Regions from separate parts of the Homo sapiens genome. Here regions 2, 3 and 4 are each linked to region 1. The links are contacts of gene promoters, found by promoter capture Hi-C in human tissues and cell types (Jung and others, 2019). All regions are on one chromosome and are shown on one strand. Each heading gives the region's core, a stretch centred on a gene start or on the middle of the fragment in contact. The rest is flanking DNA. Distances are from core to core; before and after follow the strand shown.

Region 1 (3,612 bases), core at 424-2,923:
CTATATATGGAGCCATCAGGAACCACTGAAGGTTTTTTTTTTTTTTTTTTTTTTTGAGACGGAGTCTCACTCTGTCACCCAGGCTGGAGTGCAGTGGCACGATCTCTGCTCACTGCAAGCTCTGCCTCCCAGGTTCACGCCATTCTCCTGCCTCAGCCTCCCGAGTAGCTGGGACTACAGGCGCCTGCCACCACGCCCGGCTAATTTTTTGTATTTTTTAGTAGAGACGGGGTTTGACGGTGTTAGCCAGGATGGTCTCGATCTCCTGACCTCATGATCTGCCCGCCTCGGCCTCCCAAGGTGCTGGGATTACAGGCGTGAACCACCGTGCCCGGCCGAACCACTGAAGGTTTTTAAGCAGGAAAGCAGAGCTGTTTTCTGGATGAGCAAACAGAAAGTAGTGGTTTTCCAAGTACAGTCTGAGACAACCTATAGGACCAGAATCTCTGCAGTTGAGGCTCAGGAATCTGGTAATCAGCCAGGTATAGGAACTCTTTTCTGATTGCAATGCAGTGAAGAGCAGAAGCACTGTATTAGAGAAAGAGGCAGTGCAACCAGGTAACGTGACCAGGTGAGAAGTGATGAGGTACAGAGACAAAGAGATGCACTTTTGAGTCACTTAGATGGCACTGATAGGACTTCCACTACACCCTCGCATAGACAGTGGCTGAGGTTCAGGAAATAGAGCTGGGGTTCCTACTTGGATCCTCTGGCTCTAGAGCTTTACTGCACATAGCCATTTATACCCACATCTTGATTTTAATTATTTTATATCTATGTTTCTTAGCACTTTTTGCAAATTTCCACCTTATCTCAAACTGCCCTCAAGCCTTGTATTTCTCCTTCGCTTTCATAAAACCTAGGAAAGAAATAAGGGACAGCCAAGTAAAACTTTTAAAAGTTTTAGAACATTTATTTCTTTGGGGCTGGTTACACAGGCGAGAAAGAAGTAGATTTGGTTAGGGAGAGAAAACAACAGGCCTTGGGGAGATACACTGGCTCTCCCCCTCCCTAAACCCTAAGAGGCCTCCAGGAAACCTGAAGACAATAATTCCAGAAGCCCAGAGGGTGACCCCATTTCCTCTCTCCATGGTTATTACTGTCAGTCTGGAGCAGTTCAGGAATTCAGGAAACTATAAAGAAACCACAACAGCCTCAACAACCCAAACATCAACATCAACAACCTCAACAATAAAACTCCTTAAAATTCATCTCCTTCCACCCACTCACAACCGCAGACTCGAAGCTAGGAGGTGGAAGGGACTACAGAAGCTCTGCGTTGCCCAGGTTAGTATTTGCTCATCACAGGCCTGGGTTTCCCAGGATCTCAGGGAGCCTGGAAACTGACGCCTCCATTTCTGGGTGGGAGCACCAAAGCCTAAGGACACCTTTCCTCTCTCTTCACTGCTAAGCAGGTCAAGATTAAAGCAAACCGAGGCAAAGGCCACGGTTGACAGTTCCAAGGGAACCCGCAAGGCCGCACAGGATGGGGTGGACGTTTTACGGGAGAAAAGGCTGGGGAAGTGGGCGGGCGATGGCCTACGACGGGACTTGGGGCGGGGTGTGCGAAACGCCTGGCAGGCGGGCCCTTGAGTATGACCAATCAGAATGCGGACTGCGTCCCAGGGGCGGAGCAGAGGCGTATCTTGGTCGAGATTGGATAGCGGCGGGGCGCAGGAAAGAGGTCGCGCCAGCCCGGGCAGGCAGCTTTGCAAGTCCGCGTTATATATCGCAGTGGCTGCGCCCGGGATAGCTGGCTGCGCCGCCGCGCACATGCCTAGGTTCGACGCCCTCCTCCCTTTGCCCAGGAGTTCCTTCTGTCCCGGCTCTGTTCCGTCTCGCCCCGAGGTTCACGCCATCCTCGGAGCCCCAGCCTTTCACCCAGCGCCTCCAAGCTTTGGACCTTGACTTCTGCAAAACTAGATGGTCACAGCCATGAATGTCTCACATGAAGTAAATCAGCTGTTCCAGCCCTATAACTTCGAGCTGTCCAAGGACATGAGGCCCTTTTTCGAGGAGTATTGGTGAGACTTTGGGAGAGGGAAAGGCCATGCCAGGGCCCCGGGGCCGGGGCGCGAGGGGGTGGCATTGAATGCCCACAATGATTTTCTTACAGAGCAGAGTTATGGGACTCCCTTGTACTGGCTTCACACTACCTTTGTCCGAGGTGCAGGTAGTATGTGGCACCTCAAAGAGATTAGAGCTGAAAGCAAGCAAGCAGAAATAAGAGGATGAGGGAGAACGTGGAAATATACAGAAGTCAAAGAGAGCGTGTAGTGAGAAGGGTCTTGGAGGCGTGAGGTTGATCTGAAGCCTTACTAGATGACTTCCCCGTCCTTTGTGGCTGTGTGTGCGCGCGTGTGTGCACAGTGCAGGGCCCGGGGGACAGCCTGCCCTTTACAATTATCCCATCGTTCCCCAGGTGCTCCACCGTTCCTGCTGTGGAGAAGGAGGCGAAGTCAGAGAGCTCTTCCAAGCTTTCCCCAGGAAGAGCTCTCTGGCTTTGCCTTAAAGCTCCCCAGAGGTTTTGGAGGCTGACTTTATGCTCCAACCAATTTGCCATACCCCAGCCAGGGAGAAGCTATTGCCACATTCTTCTTACGCCACAGCCCTGGTATGCTTCTAGGAGCCCCAACCAGGGAGAAGCTATTGCCACACTTCTTACACCACAGCCCTGGGCTGCTTCTAGGCGCGGGCCAGACAGCCGTCACCCACCTCTAACCCCACTGAGAGAGCAATAATCACAGAAACCTTGGACATAGCTCCTGCCCTGTGCTAGATACTTTGTATACGTTAATACCCCCAGGAGAGATGTAGTATTCGCGCTCTACAAATGAGGAAGCCAAGGCTCAGAGAATTAAGTTGGTTTTTCCAATGTCACATAGCTAGTAAGTGGCAGAACTGGGACTCCAACCCAGAGCACTCACCTGGAGAGATGAGTGGGCATTTCTCTAATCAGCACCCACCCATGAGCCCATCCCTCTGCCTTCTGCTTGCCAGGGCAACCTCATTCCCCATAGCCCTGATCTACCTGGTTCTCATCGCTGTGGGGCAGAACTACATGAAGGAACGCAAGGGCTTCAACCTGCAAGGGCCTCTCATCCTCTGGTCCTTCTGCCTTGCAATCTTCAGGTAAGACCCCATCCCACTCCCTGCCTCTTCTCTAGATCTTAGACCACCATTCTATCCCTTGAAGCTTTCCCGATTGCATCAACCTCCATCCTGTCCCCAAGTTGCCTTGTAACACTCTCCCCATCTCATTCTCGGCTTTAGTTCCCCTCCCAGCCTTCACCCTCTTCTGTTATATTATCCTGTTTTCCTTCTCTTTTAGACCCCTACCTGGTGGTCTCTGCTTTGTCCCTCTTGCCTTCGTAGAGTCTGTACTCGCAACTAATTTCTCCAGCCTCTAATAGTGTCACCTCCTAACACCCTCTCTCAAGACCCTCCAATAACTTCCCCATATTTTCTCCCCCAAACTCCTTCAGTCTTCCCCTATCCCTCTACACATCTCCTCCCAGGCTCCTAACCCCTCCCAAGAACCCCATTCCTTAACTCAACTTTCAGTCCCATCCCCCTGCATTCCCTGATCTTTCTCCAGCCCTCGTCTCCTCT
Region 2 (3,612 bases), core at 767-3,266, 56 kb after region 1:
ATTTTGTCTCACTTTACTCTGAAGGCTAGCAATAGAGGAAGCATGGATTAGTGTGTAGTGATTTCCAGGCTCTGCCCTCTGGACAGATTCCCCTCTGAGTGCTCCAGTTGAGTGACAGGACCATGTGGCAGGAGTGCAGCTGGAAGTATATCATCGGCAGATTTGGGTTGGGTAAATATAGCAGGAGCAGGATGTCAGTGTGGGAGATGGATTGTTCTGGGAAAGGAAGTGTTGTCTTTCGTCTGAGAAACAATTTCCTGCACTTCTGGGACTTTTGCTTTCTTCTTTTTCTTTTTTTTCCCAGGGCAGAGCAGGAGTTGGCAGGGGATGGGTACACTTGCTGAATTCTATCTCTGGATGTCTGCATGTTTCTACATTTGAAGTTGGGAGTAGAGATCAGATCTGTTTCAGCCAGTTAGGAAATGGACCTAATAAATTATCGTACCCATGCCTTAAGTTTCACTTTTTGAAGTTTTAAATTAAAGCACCTATCTGCTTAAAGCCTCTTTTTAAAAAGTTACTGTTCTTTTAGTGAAATAGACGGGTTGAGAGGCAAAAATAATTACGTAAAGAAAATCAACTCTATTGCAAGTCAGACATGAGGCACCAGCTGGCAGGAAACAGCTGGGATATTTCTGGGGGCTAGACTCTTCCACACCAGCACTTAACTCTTCAAGTGATCTCTGTTATCTGAGCTACTTAAGATAGCTACCTACCTTACCAACAATCTGCATAAAATACTAAATCTACTAAATTATGTGATATTTTACAATTGACTAGAACTTTATAATTTATAAAGTGGTTTTTCATTATAGCCTTTCAATTTTAGAATCTATAAAGCACATAAATTATAATCTATAAATTATATTTTTATAAATTATCTATAAATTATATTTATATAAATTGTTATATTATAACTTAGACTCATACATAATCTATAATAGATTATTTCTATAAACATATTTATAGAAGAGTTGTAAAGAAGTTCTCATCTATCCAATGCCCAGTTTCCCCTGTTATTAACATCTTACATTAATATGACACATTTGTCACAATTAATGAACAAATATTGATTCATCATTAATTAAAGTCCATACTTTATTCAGATTTCATTAGGTTTTTACTTAATGGCCTTTTTCTGTTCAAGGATTCCATCTAGGATACCACATTACATTTAGTCATCACATCTTGTTAGGTTCCACTTGGCTGTAACAGTTTGCCTGTATTCTTTTTCTTTTCTTTTTTCTTTCTTTTCTTTTTTTTTTTTTTGAGACAGAGTCTCGCTCTGTCGCCCAGGCTGGAGTGCAGTGGCGCGATCTTGGCTCACTGCAAGCTCCGCCTCCCAGGTTCCTGCCATTCTCCTGCCTCAGCCTCCTGAGTAGCTGGGACTACAGGCGCCCACCACCACACCCGGCTAATTTTTTTTTTTTTTGTATTTTTTAGTAGAGATGGGGTTTCACCGTGTTAGCCAGGATGGTCTCAATCTCCTGATCTTGTGATCCACCCGCCTCGGCCTCTCAAAGTGCTGGGATTACAGGTGTGAGCCACCGCGCCCGGCCGCCTGTATTCTTTTCAAGTTTCACAAAAACTCACAAGATAGACTGTGCCTTTATTAATATTCCCCTTTTACAGATAAAACTCAGGTTCCAGAAAAATTAAGTAACATTTTCAAGGTTATACAGTAAAAGCTTCTTTTAAAGTGTGATTATGATTTGGAAAAAGGCGATGAGGTTATTTATTTGCTTTTCACGTGAATAAGGGCAGACTTACAGCTAACCTTCAGGTGGGCCATTTACTGAAGAGGAACAAGAGACAGAGGTGAGTCTAGCTTGTTCCTGGACTCTTCTGTCTTGCTGGAGACAAATTAACATTATTATTTTAATCACAATTATTTTGGGAAAACCCCTTTCTCTTTGATTCTGCTATGTCTACCAAAGGAACTGATGGCAGAAAATCCTGAGTTAGCCTTGTTCCCTGGCAACAGACTTCAGGCTGCTTACTGGTCCCTGTTGTTGGATACCAGGTTCAGTAGGAAAGTCTGCTGAGAGTATAGCATGAACACTAACCCAACTAGCCTATTTCCAGCACGTGTGGTGTTAACTATCTGGGAATAGGAACATGAGTTTTTAAATTCCAGTCTCTAATTGGGTAGGCTGAAGTTCTGGCTTGGAGTAAGGAGATTCACAGAACTGCAGTGCTAAGAGATAGTAGAAAAATTTAAAAATTCAATAAGACATGGCACTTAACTGACTCTGAATGCTCTGTCCGGAGGGATGAGTAAAGGGGAGAGGTGAGAGGAGGTAAAGTAGCGGGTTACTAATGATCCTAGATACTATTAAAAGATTATCACAAGGAGGTGGAAACTATTGAGGTACAAACCATCAGATCTTAAGGTAAGGAGTCACTCATCTTGCCCAGAGAAGTAGTAGTGAAGATAGTACCTGGATCCTAAAAGGTAACTTTTAAAGTACTTCAACCTAAGATGACAGAGGGTAGGCAGTTTATTGATACCCTTAACAACCACTTGTTAGTAGAGCCATTTTAATTAATGGGAAAGGGGATCATTCTCCGTTTATGCTTTTATTATATGTAGCTATGAGCATAGAAGCTGTGTTTGGACCCTCTGGTGACTATTGCCCTCTTCTAGTTGTGTCCAGGCACAGGTAAATTCTTGAGGCCAGGAAGGGCCTGGCTTTATCTCCAAAAGGAAGCTGTGGAAATAGCAATGAGCAAAACAATGAGAAAGAGCTTTAGAAAATTTGCAAATATTGTGTATCTTCATGGCATGATGAAGTGGGATTAGGACAGGGGAGAAAGTATAAACCACCAATTATAGGAGTCTTTAAGGGCTTGGGTGACTGAGGCCTTCTGCTAGGAGGCTGGGAGGTTGTTGATGACAGCAAAGATGTAACAGGTATTGAATACTAGAGGATAGACCTCATACTCTGAAAATGCTTTTGCCTCAACAATTTGAAAGAGAAATATGAAAGACAAAGTGACAATATGAAGAATGACTATTCAAAGTGCTTCTACCAGTAAGTCTTGTCTGTTGGCAAGTTTTAACCTGTAGGTAGGGGAAAAACGTGGGAGGATCTCTTATTCAGAATGCAAAACAGGAGACAGTGAAGTACCTGTGTTTCCAAAGAACTCCGAATTGAGCTGTGGTGGAAGAGGAGGAAATTTCTTACTGTGGTCTTGTATAATGTGAAATCTTTGTGAAGTCTCAATAGATGTTAAGTCTCCAAGGAGGGGAGACTTTTTAGCTGCTAAAGAAGCTTAGGTTCAGTGAGCCTCCAGTGGGAATACAGACATAGACGTCCACTGACATTTCTGCAACCAGTTTTGGTGAGTGGAAAGCAACTAGGTAAGTTTCACTTTTTGCAAGAATCCCAAGTGACCCTTTGCACTATGGACTGAGGTACCTGCTTGTCTCTACAAAAACTATAGAGGAGACACGACAGGCTTTAACTGGAAATTGTTCATGGTTTCTTAGAAGGGAAGCTCATATCCTGTTAAAGCACTTTAGAAAAATAAAGTCAAATTAGAGATAAGAGGATCTTTACTTGTATTTTCAAGAGCTTTTTTAAAAAACTGAAGTGAAATGCATATAAC
Region 3 (3,612 bases), core at 441-2,940, 42 kb before region 1:
CCAGGCTGGTCTCAAACTCCTGACTTCAAGTGGATCTGCCTTCCTTGGCCTCCCAAAGTGCTGGGATTACAGGCATGAGTCACCAAGCCTGGCCAATTTATTTTTTTCTCCCCTTAATTTGAAATGCTACAGAATGAAAGATTTGTTTGTTTGTTTGTTTGTTTATTTATTGAGATGGAGTCTTGCTGTGTTGCCGAGGCTGGAGTGCAGTGGCGCGATCTTGGCTCACTGCAACATCCGCTTCCTTGGTTCAAGCAATTCTCTGCCTCAGCCTCCCGAGTAGCTGGGATTACAGGCGCTGCCACCACACCCAGCTAATTTTTGTATTTTTAGTAGAGACGGGGTTTCACCATCTTGGCCAGGCTGGTCTTGAACTCCTGACCTCGTGATCTGCCTGCCTCGGCCTCCCAAAGTGCTGGGATTACAGGCATGAGCTACCACGCCTGGCCTTGGCATTTTTATTTTATTTATTTTGAGACAGGGTCTTGCTCTGTCACCCAGGCTGGAGTGCAGTGGCACTATCTCGGCTCACTGCAAGCTCCGCCTCCCAGGTTCATGCCATTCTCCTTCCTCAGCCTCCTGAGTAGCCGGGACTACAGGCACCACCACCACGCCTGGCTGATTTTTGTATTTTTAGTAAAGACGGGGTCTCACCATGTTAGCCAGGATGGTCTCGATCTCCTGACCTCGCGATCCACCTGCCTTGGCCTCCCAAAGTGCTGGGATTACAGGCGTGAGCCATTGCTTCTGGCCTTGTTTATTTTTTATTTTTATTTTTTTAAATTGAGACACAGCCCAGGCTGAAGTGGTGAGATCTCGGGTCACTGCAACCTTTGCTTCCTGGGTTCAAGTGATTCTCCTGCCTCAGCCTCCCAAGTAGCTGGGATTACAGGCACTAAGTCCCTATGCTGCACACAGCACAGGAACCCTTGGCCCAGCCCACAAAACTAATTTTTCCTCCTAGGCCTCTTGGCCTGTGATGGGAAGGGATGCTGTGAAGACTTCTGACATGCACTGGAGACATTTTCCCCATTGTCTTGGGGATTAACATTCGGGTCCTCATTACTCATGCAAATTTCTGCAGCCAGCTTGAATTTCTCCTCAGAAAATGGGATTTTTTTTTCTATCGCATTGTCAGGCTGCACATTTTCCAAGCTTTTATGCCCTGTTTCCCTTTTAAAACTGAATGCCGGCTGGGCGCGGTGGCTCACGCCTGTAATACCAGCACTTTGGGAGGCTGAGGTGGGCAGATCACGAGGTCAGGAGATCGAGACCATCCTGGCTAACACGGTGAAACCCTGTCTCTACTAAAAAATACAAAAAATTAGCCGGGCGTGGTGGTGGGCGCCTGTAGTCCCAGCTACTCGGGAGGCTGAGGCAGGAGAATGTGTGAACCTGGGAGGTGGAGCTTGCAGTGAGCCGAGATTGTGCTACTGCACTCCAGCCTGGGCAACAGAGCAAGACTCCGTCTGAAAAAAAAAAACAAAACCAAAACTGAATGCCTTTAACAGCACCCAAGTCACCTCTTGAATGCTTTGCTACTTAGAAACTTTTTTCCACCGGATACCCTAAATCATCTCTCTCAAGTTCAAAGTTCCATAAATCTCTAGGGCAGGGGCAAAATGCTGCCAGTCTCTTTGCTAAAACATAACAAGAGTCACCTTTGCTCCAGTTCCCAACAAGTTCCTCATCTCCATCTGAGACCACCTCAGTCTGGACCTTATTGTTCATATCACTATCAACATTTTTTTTTTTTTGAGACGGAGTTTCGCTCTTGTTGCCCATGCTGGAATGCAATGGTGTGATCTTGGCTCACCACAACCTCCACCTCCTAGGTAAGTGATTCTTCTGCCTCAGCCTCCCGGGTAGCTGAGATTACAGGCATGCACCACCACGCCTGGCTAATTTTGTATTTTTAGTAGAGAAGGGGTTTCTCCATGTTGGTCAGGCTGGTCTTGAACTCCCGATGTCAGGTCATCTGCCCGCCTCGGCCCCCCAAAGTGTTGGGATTACAGGTGTGAGCCACCATGCCTGACCCATTATCAGCATTTTTGTCAAAGCCACTCAACAAGTCTCTAGGAAGTTCCAATCTTTTCCACATTTTTCTCTCTTCTTCTGAGCCCTCTAAATAGTTTCAGCCTCTCCCTGTTACCCAGTTCTGAAGTTGCTTCCACATTTTCAGGTATCTTTTCAGCAACACTCCACTCCTGGTACTAATTTACTGTATTAGTCCATTTTCATGCTGCTGATAAAGACATACCTGAAGCTGGGCAATTTACAAAAGAAAGAAGTTTAATGGGCTTACAGTTCCACATGGCTGGGAGGCCGCACAATCACAGTAGAAAGACAAGGAGGAGCAAGTTACAACTTACGTGGATGGCAGTAGGCAAAAAGAGAACTTGTGCTGAGAAACTCCCATTTTTAAAACCATCAGATCTTTTGAGACCCATTCACTATCACCAGAACAGCACAGGAAAGACCCACCCCCATGATTCAGTCATCTCCCACTGGGTCCCTCCCACATCTTATTGGAGCTACAAGATGAGATCTGGGTGGGGACACAGAGCCAAACATATCACTGCATGTTCTCACTTATAAGTGGGAGGTAAATGATGAGAACACATTGGCACAAAGAGGGGAACAACAGACACTGGAGCCTACTGGAGGGTGGAAGATGGGAGGAGAGAGAGGATCAGAAAAAATAACTAATACTAGACTTTATACTTGGGTGAAGAAATAATCTGTACAACAAACCGCTGTGACAAGTACAAATTTGCTTATATAACAAACCTGCACATGTACCCCTGAACTTAAAAGGTAAAAAACAAACAAATGAAATCAACCCAATAGTTCCAGAGACTATTGTTTTGGATAAACATAAAAATTTATCTTTCTGGTCTTAAAGCTTGAAACTTATATTTGCTTTATTTGAGTTCCTTCATTAGTAAATGACCTTCAGGCTTCTCCCCCGCAAAAAAAAAGTATCAATGAACTGAAACTCACCAGATCACTACATCCAGACAATGAGACTTTGGACCCCTCATTCATCATGATTACTTCCTTGGCCCTCCCTACTTCCTGTTTTCTTACACATTACATTTCTTCCCCTCTGTATAAAACCCTTGTTTTAGTTGATCAGGGAGATGGATTTGAGGTTTTGAGCTCCCATCTTCTCAGCTGCAGCACCCGATTAAAGCCTTCTTCCTTGGCAATACTTGTCATCTCAGTCATTGGCTTTCTGTGCAGCGAGCTGTAGGACCTAGACTGAACCCCTGATGTTTCAATAACATATTTTGGTTCCCTGACTGGGAACATGTTGCTTGTGGCTCAGCTGCCATGGGTGGAGTCTCAGAAGCCCTCTTATGCAGCTGCCTGACAAATTTTATTTTATTTTATTATTTTATTTTATTTCCTTTGAGATGGAGTCTCACAGTGTCACCCAGGCTGTAGTGCAGTGGCACAATCTTGGCTCACTGCAACCTCTGCCTCCCAGTGCTATAGGAGTCAGAAGAAATCACTTGGGCAGATAGCCAGGGTACGGGAATCCTCAGTAAGGCTTTTCTTTTTCTTTTTTAATGAAAAGCTGCCCCAAATCATTTTCTAACAAAGAGC
Region 4 (3,612 bases), core at 584-3,083, 40 kb after region 1:
ATTTTATAGTATGTGAATCATATCTCAGTTTATAAAGGAGGCAAATGTAGGCTGCAGAAGTGATGGATTTGCCAGTTTTTTCTCAGGTCTCAGAACTGTGGAGGGAAGTCTCTGTAGTCACTGCTGTGCTTTGGACCCATTACCCAGCAAAGGCAGCATAAGGCTCTGTTCAGCTTCTGGCCCAGTTTGTCCTTTTATGTCTCTCTCATTAACTCAAGGAAGCACATGGCTTTTATATTTAAATTTATTCAAACTGTAATCTTTGACATTTGAGTTAGCTTTTAGTACAGTTTTGCATTTATAGTAATATATATTATGTATTTTCTCTATCCCCAAAGAATCCGTTTTAATCTTTTCCGGATGCAAATTTCAGGCTGTCTTGTCCCATCTTCCCTCTCTTGCTCTCTTTCCCCTCCCCCCACGGAGTGTGTTTGATCAGGTGTGGCAGGAATATCCACTGTCAAGCTGCGCCCTTTATATTAGTCAATATTATCCTTCTCCCCCCTCCCTGTCTGTCTGCCCCTTTGGGCTTTCCCAGTTGATTTATAATTTTGGAATTCTCATTGGAGTCTGTAATACAGTTTGTTCATTATTTAACCAAAACCTGTTTAATGAGCAGAGAGAGGCAATGTAAATGTTAGGCATGTTGCAGTGATGTACCTTTGTGCTTCTCAGAGCGGGTGGGTAGTTAACTCTGTGCTGCCTGCAGGGCTGGGGTGTCCTGGCCTTAGGGGCAGAAGGGCCACTGCCTCTCTCTTACATCTGCCCAAGCCCTGCCATGGGTTTAGATTCCAAAGACACATTTCCTTTTATTCTTCTAAGAATCTTTTGGGGCTCTTGCATATGGGAGTTATCTTCAGTCTCGCAGCTAGACCTTGTGGTAGGATCTGTGGCATGGGATGGGGCATGGAAGGGAAAGTGAAATATCAGGATACTTGATATTGCTCTTGGTTTTAGATCTGACAAGAGTAGACAGTTTATGGGAATGCTTCTAGCCAATATGGTCTGTGGTCTTTGATCTCTTTGTTCCCAGACTAGATAAATTCTTGCAAGCCTTAGTTCCCTTCATCCAGTATAGCTTTATGGAAAGGGCTATAGTCAGTTGTGAGTTGTGGTGTTTGGTTGTAGTCATTTGCCTCCAGATATAGTCTGTCTTTGTCCTTGGTCTTTAAACTTAGATCATTACAAAGAGATTCTTTTCCAGAAAATTTTTGGTTTAAAACAGGAGAGGAACAGTCTAAAAGTATCACAACCAGGCTAGGTGCAGTGACCCACATCTGTAATCTAGCACTTTGGGTGGCCAAGACAGCAGGATTACTTGAGGCTGGGAGTTCGAGACCAGCATGGGCAACATACCAAGATTCCCCCCATCTCTACAAAAATAAAAATAAAAAAAATTAGTTGGGTATGGTGGCGTACAACTGTAGTTCCAGCTACTTAGGCTGAGGCGAGAGGATCACTTGAGCCCAGGAGTTCGAGGTTACAGTGACCCATGATTGCGCCACTGTACTCTAGCCTGAGTGACAAGAGTGAGACCCTTTCAATGAATGAATGAATGAATGAATGAATGAAAGAAAGTATCACAACCAAAATCTTCTCTTATGGGATCATCTTTTAATGACTTACTTTAAAGCCTTCAGGGCCAGGGCTTGAGGAAGACTTCTTAGGGTGTGCGTGTGTCTATGTGCGTGTGAGGGTGTGGTGGTGAGGAGTTTGCCTTTGGAGATTTAGTCCCAGGTCTTTTTAGCTCTGAGGACCTAATGTCCAGTTTTGGTTATCAGGACTGGGGTTCTCAGTGTAAGACTAAGGTGGAGGGCCGGGTGCGGTGGCTCACGCCTGTAATCCCAGCACTTTGGGAGGCCGAGGCGGGCAGATCACGAGGTCAGGAGATTGAGACCATCCTGGCGAACACGGTGAAACCCCGTCTCTACTAAAAAAATACAAAAAATTAGTCGGGCATGGTGGCAGGCGCCTGTAGTCCCAGCTACTCGGGAGGCTGAGGCAGGAGAATGGCCTGAACCTGGGAGGCGCAGCTTGCAGTGAGCCGAGATCGTGCCACTGCACTCCAGCCTGGGTGACAGAGCGATACTCTGTCTCAAAAAAAAAAACTAAGGTGGTCTTGAGGCCCAGTATAGGTACCCATATTAACTATAACATTGTTCTAGCTTCTTAGACCTTTTCTTTTGGGGATTCTCCAAGATTTGGATTCCTTCAGGGCCTAGCTTATTGAGTTGCTTCTAACTGATATTTATTGACTATCTGGTATGTGCCAGGCATTTTTCTTAGGTACTTAGGAAGTGGGTCTGTAATGGTAAACAATCAGTCAGACTTCCTGCCCTCATAGCCACTGGTTTGACAGGACTAATGACTCTAGCTGATCATTCCAAAGCTAACATTTTGTAGCCTCTACTTTATGCTATATGGTCCCTATCAGGCATGGAATGGATGACCATGAGTGAGAGCAATCTGCTGCCAGCTTTTCTTATTCCTGCTCTTTCCTTAAGGAACAAGCCAAAGAAATAAGTAAAAACAATAGCTCATATTTGCTTATTTGGCTTTCACATGTAAAGCTGTTATGGCCAGAGTTTAGCTATTCCCAAAGACATTGGTGGGTTGCATAGCGTAATTCTGGGGGATAGGATATTTCTTTACAGAGCTTACTGGGACAGCAGGTTATGGCGTGCTTGAGTTTAAGAGGGAGAAGCACGTGCCAGGAGAAAGTGGATGTGTCAGGAGTTTATTTAAGTATAGTTTATCCTGGACAAACACACCTGTAGGGTACTGTCTGTCTCAAGCTTTGTGAATTCAGAGTCTGAGCTAGGAGGTTTGAGTCCATCTAACCTCCAGAGGTTTGCAGAGAACATTTAAACAGAGTCTGGAAGCCAACTTGGGAGGAACTATGACTTAACACCTGTCTGGCCTGGGCCTCTTAGCAGTAGCCGCTTAGGTAGAAAAGAAACTGTTTGAGAATGCCTGATACCTCAAGTTTAATCTGTTTCATTTGGAAAATGGGGAGGTGTAGAGAAAAGAGATTTTAGTAGTCATTGTCAGGAAAAAGATTGAATAAGAGTATATTATATGTGCCAGGCATGGTGGCTCACACCTGTAATCCCAGCACTTTGGGAGGCTAAGGCGGGTGGATGACTTGAGGTCAGCAGTTCGAGACCAGCCTGGCCAACATGGTGAAACCCTGTCTCTACTAAAAATACAAAAATTAGCCAGGTGCGGTGGCGCATGCCTGTAGTCCCAGCTACTCAGGAGGCTGAAGCAGGTGAATTGCTTGAACCCAGGAGGTGAGATTGCAGTGAGCTGAGATCGTGCCACTGCACTCCAGCCTGGGTGGCAGATCAAGACTCCATCTCAACAACAACAACAACAACAACAACAAAAGCGAGTATGTTATATGAAAAAAATTTGCTGGAGTCCTATTGATTAAGTGCCTACTTTTATTTTTTCCTACAGGGGTCTATAGTTTAGGGAGTAAAGTAATATATCATTATTAATCAGCATGAGAAGAAGGTTGAATGGGTCATCAGCTTTTGTTCCACTTGGAATTGAGCTTGTGAATTGTTCAAGGCCTAAGTAGGAACTAAAAGAACCAAATGTGATAAA

What was found. The method cuts DNA at HindIII sites, captures the fragments that hold promoters and counts their contacts. A contact is called where the count stands out against the background at its distance.
Region 2: a contact is called between a fragment that was not itself captured here and the fragment with the promoter of ELOVL3 in region 1, in 3 of the 25 tissues and cell types used here (IMR-90 fibroblasts, aorta and mesendoderm cells).
Region 3: a contact is called between a fragment that was not itself captured here and the fragment with the promoter of ELOVL3 in region 1, in 3 of the 25 tissues and cell types used here (H1 embryonic stem cells, heart left ventricle and stomach).
Region 4: a contact is called between a fragment that was not itself captured here and the fragment with the promoter of ELOVL3 in region 1, in 4 of the 25 tissues and cell types used here (aorta, dorsolateral prefrontal cortex, spleen and 1 more).

Annotation. Positions count from the first base shown.
Region 1 is chr10:102,224,626-102,228,237 of GRCh38, forward strand. ELOVL3 (ELOVL fatty acid elongase 3) reads left to right here and starts at 1,674. Exons shown (of 4, transcript NM_152310.3): 1 at 1,674-2,024; 2 at 3,001-3,132. The coding sequence starts at 1,924. RefSeq lists a silencer at 1,656-1,705. The HindIII fragment of the contact is 12,375 bases long and covers 1-2,186 here.
Region 2 is chr10:102,280,676-102,284,287 of GRCh38, forward strand. All of the region lies in intron 3 of GBF1 (golgi brefeldin A resistant guanine nucleotide exchange factor 1), which reads left to right. Among named protein-coding and RNA genes, the nearest start is that of GBF1, 37 kb to the left of the region's middle. The HindIII fragment of the contact is 3,528 bases long and covers 253-3,612 here.
Region 3 is chr10:102,182,284-102,185,895 of GRCh38, forward strand. No RefSeq gene overlaps it. Among named protein-coding and RNA genes, the nearest start is that of NOLC1, 32 kb to the left of the region's middle. The HindIII fragment of the contact is 4,792 bases long and covers 1-3,612 here.
Region 4 is chr10:102,264,142-102,267,753 of GRCh38, forward strand. The region is part of intron 3 of GBF1 (golgi brefeldin A resistant guanine nucleotide exchange factor 1); the gene reads left to right. Among named protein-coding and RNA genes, the nearest start is that of GBF1, 20 kb to the left of the region's middle. The HindIII fragment of the contact is 6,652 bases long and covers 1-3,612 here.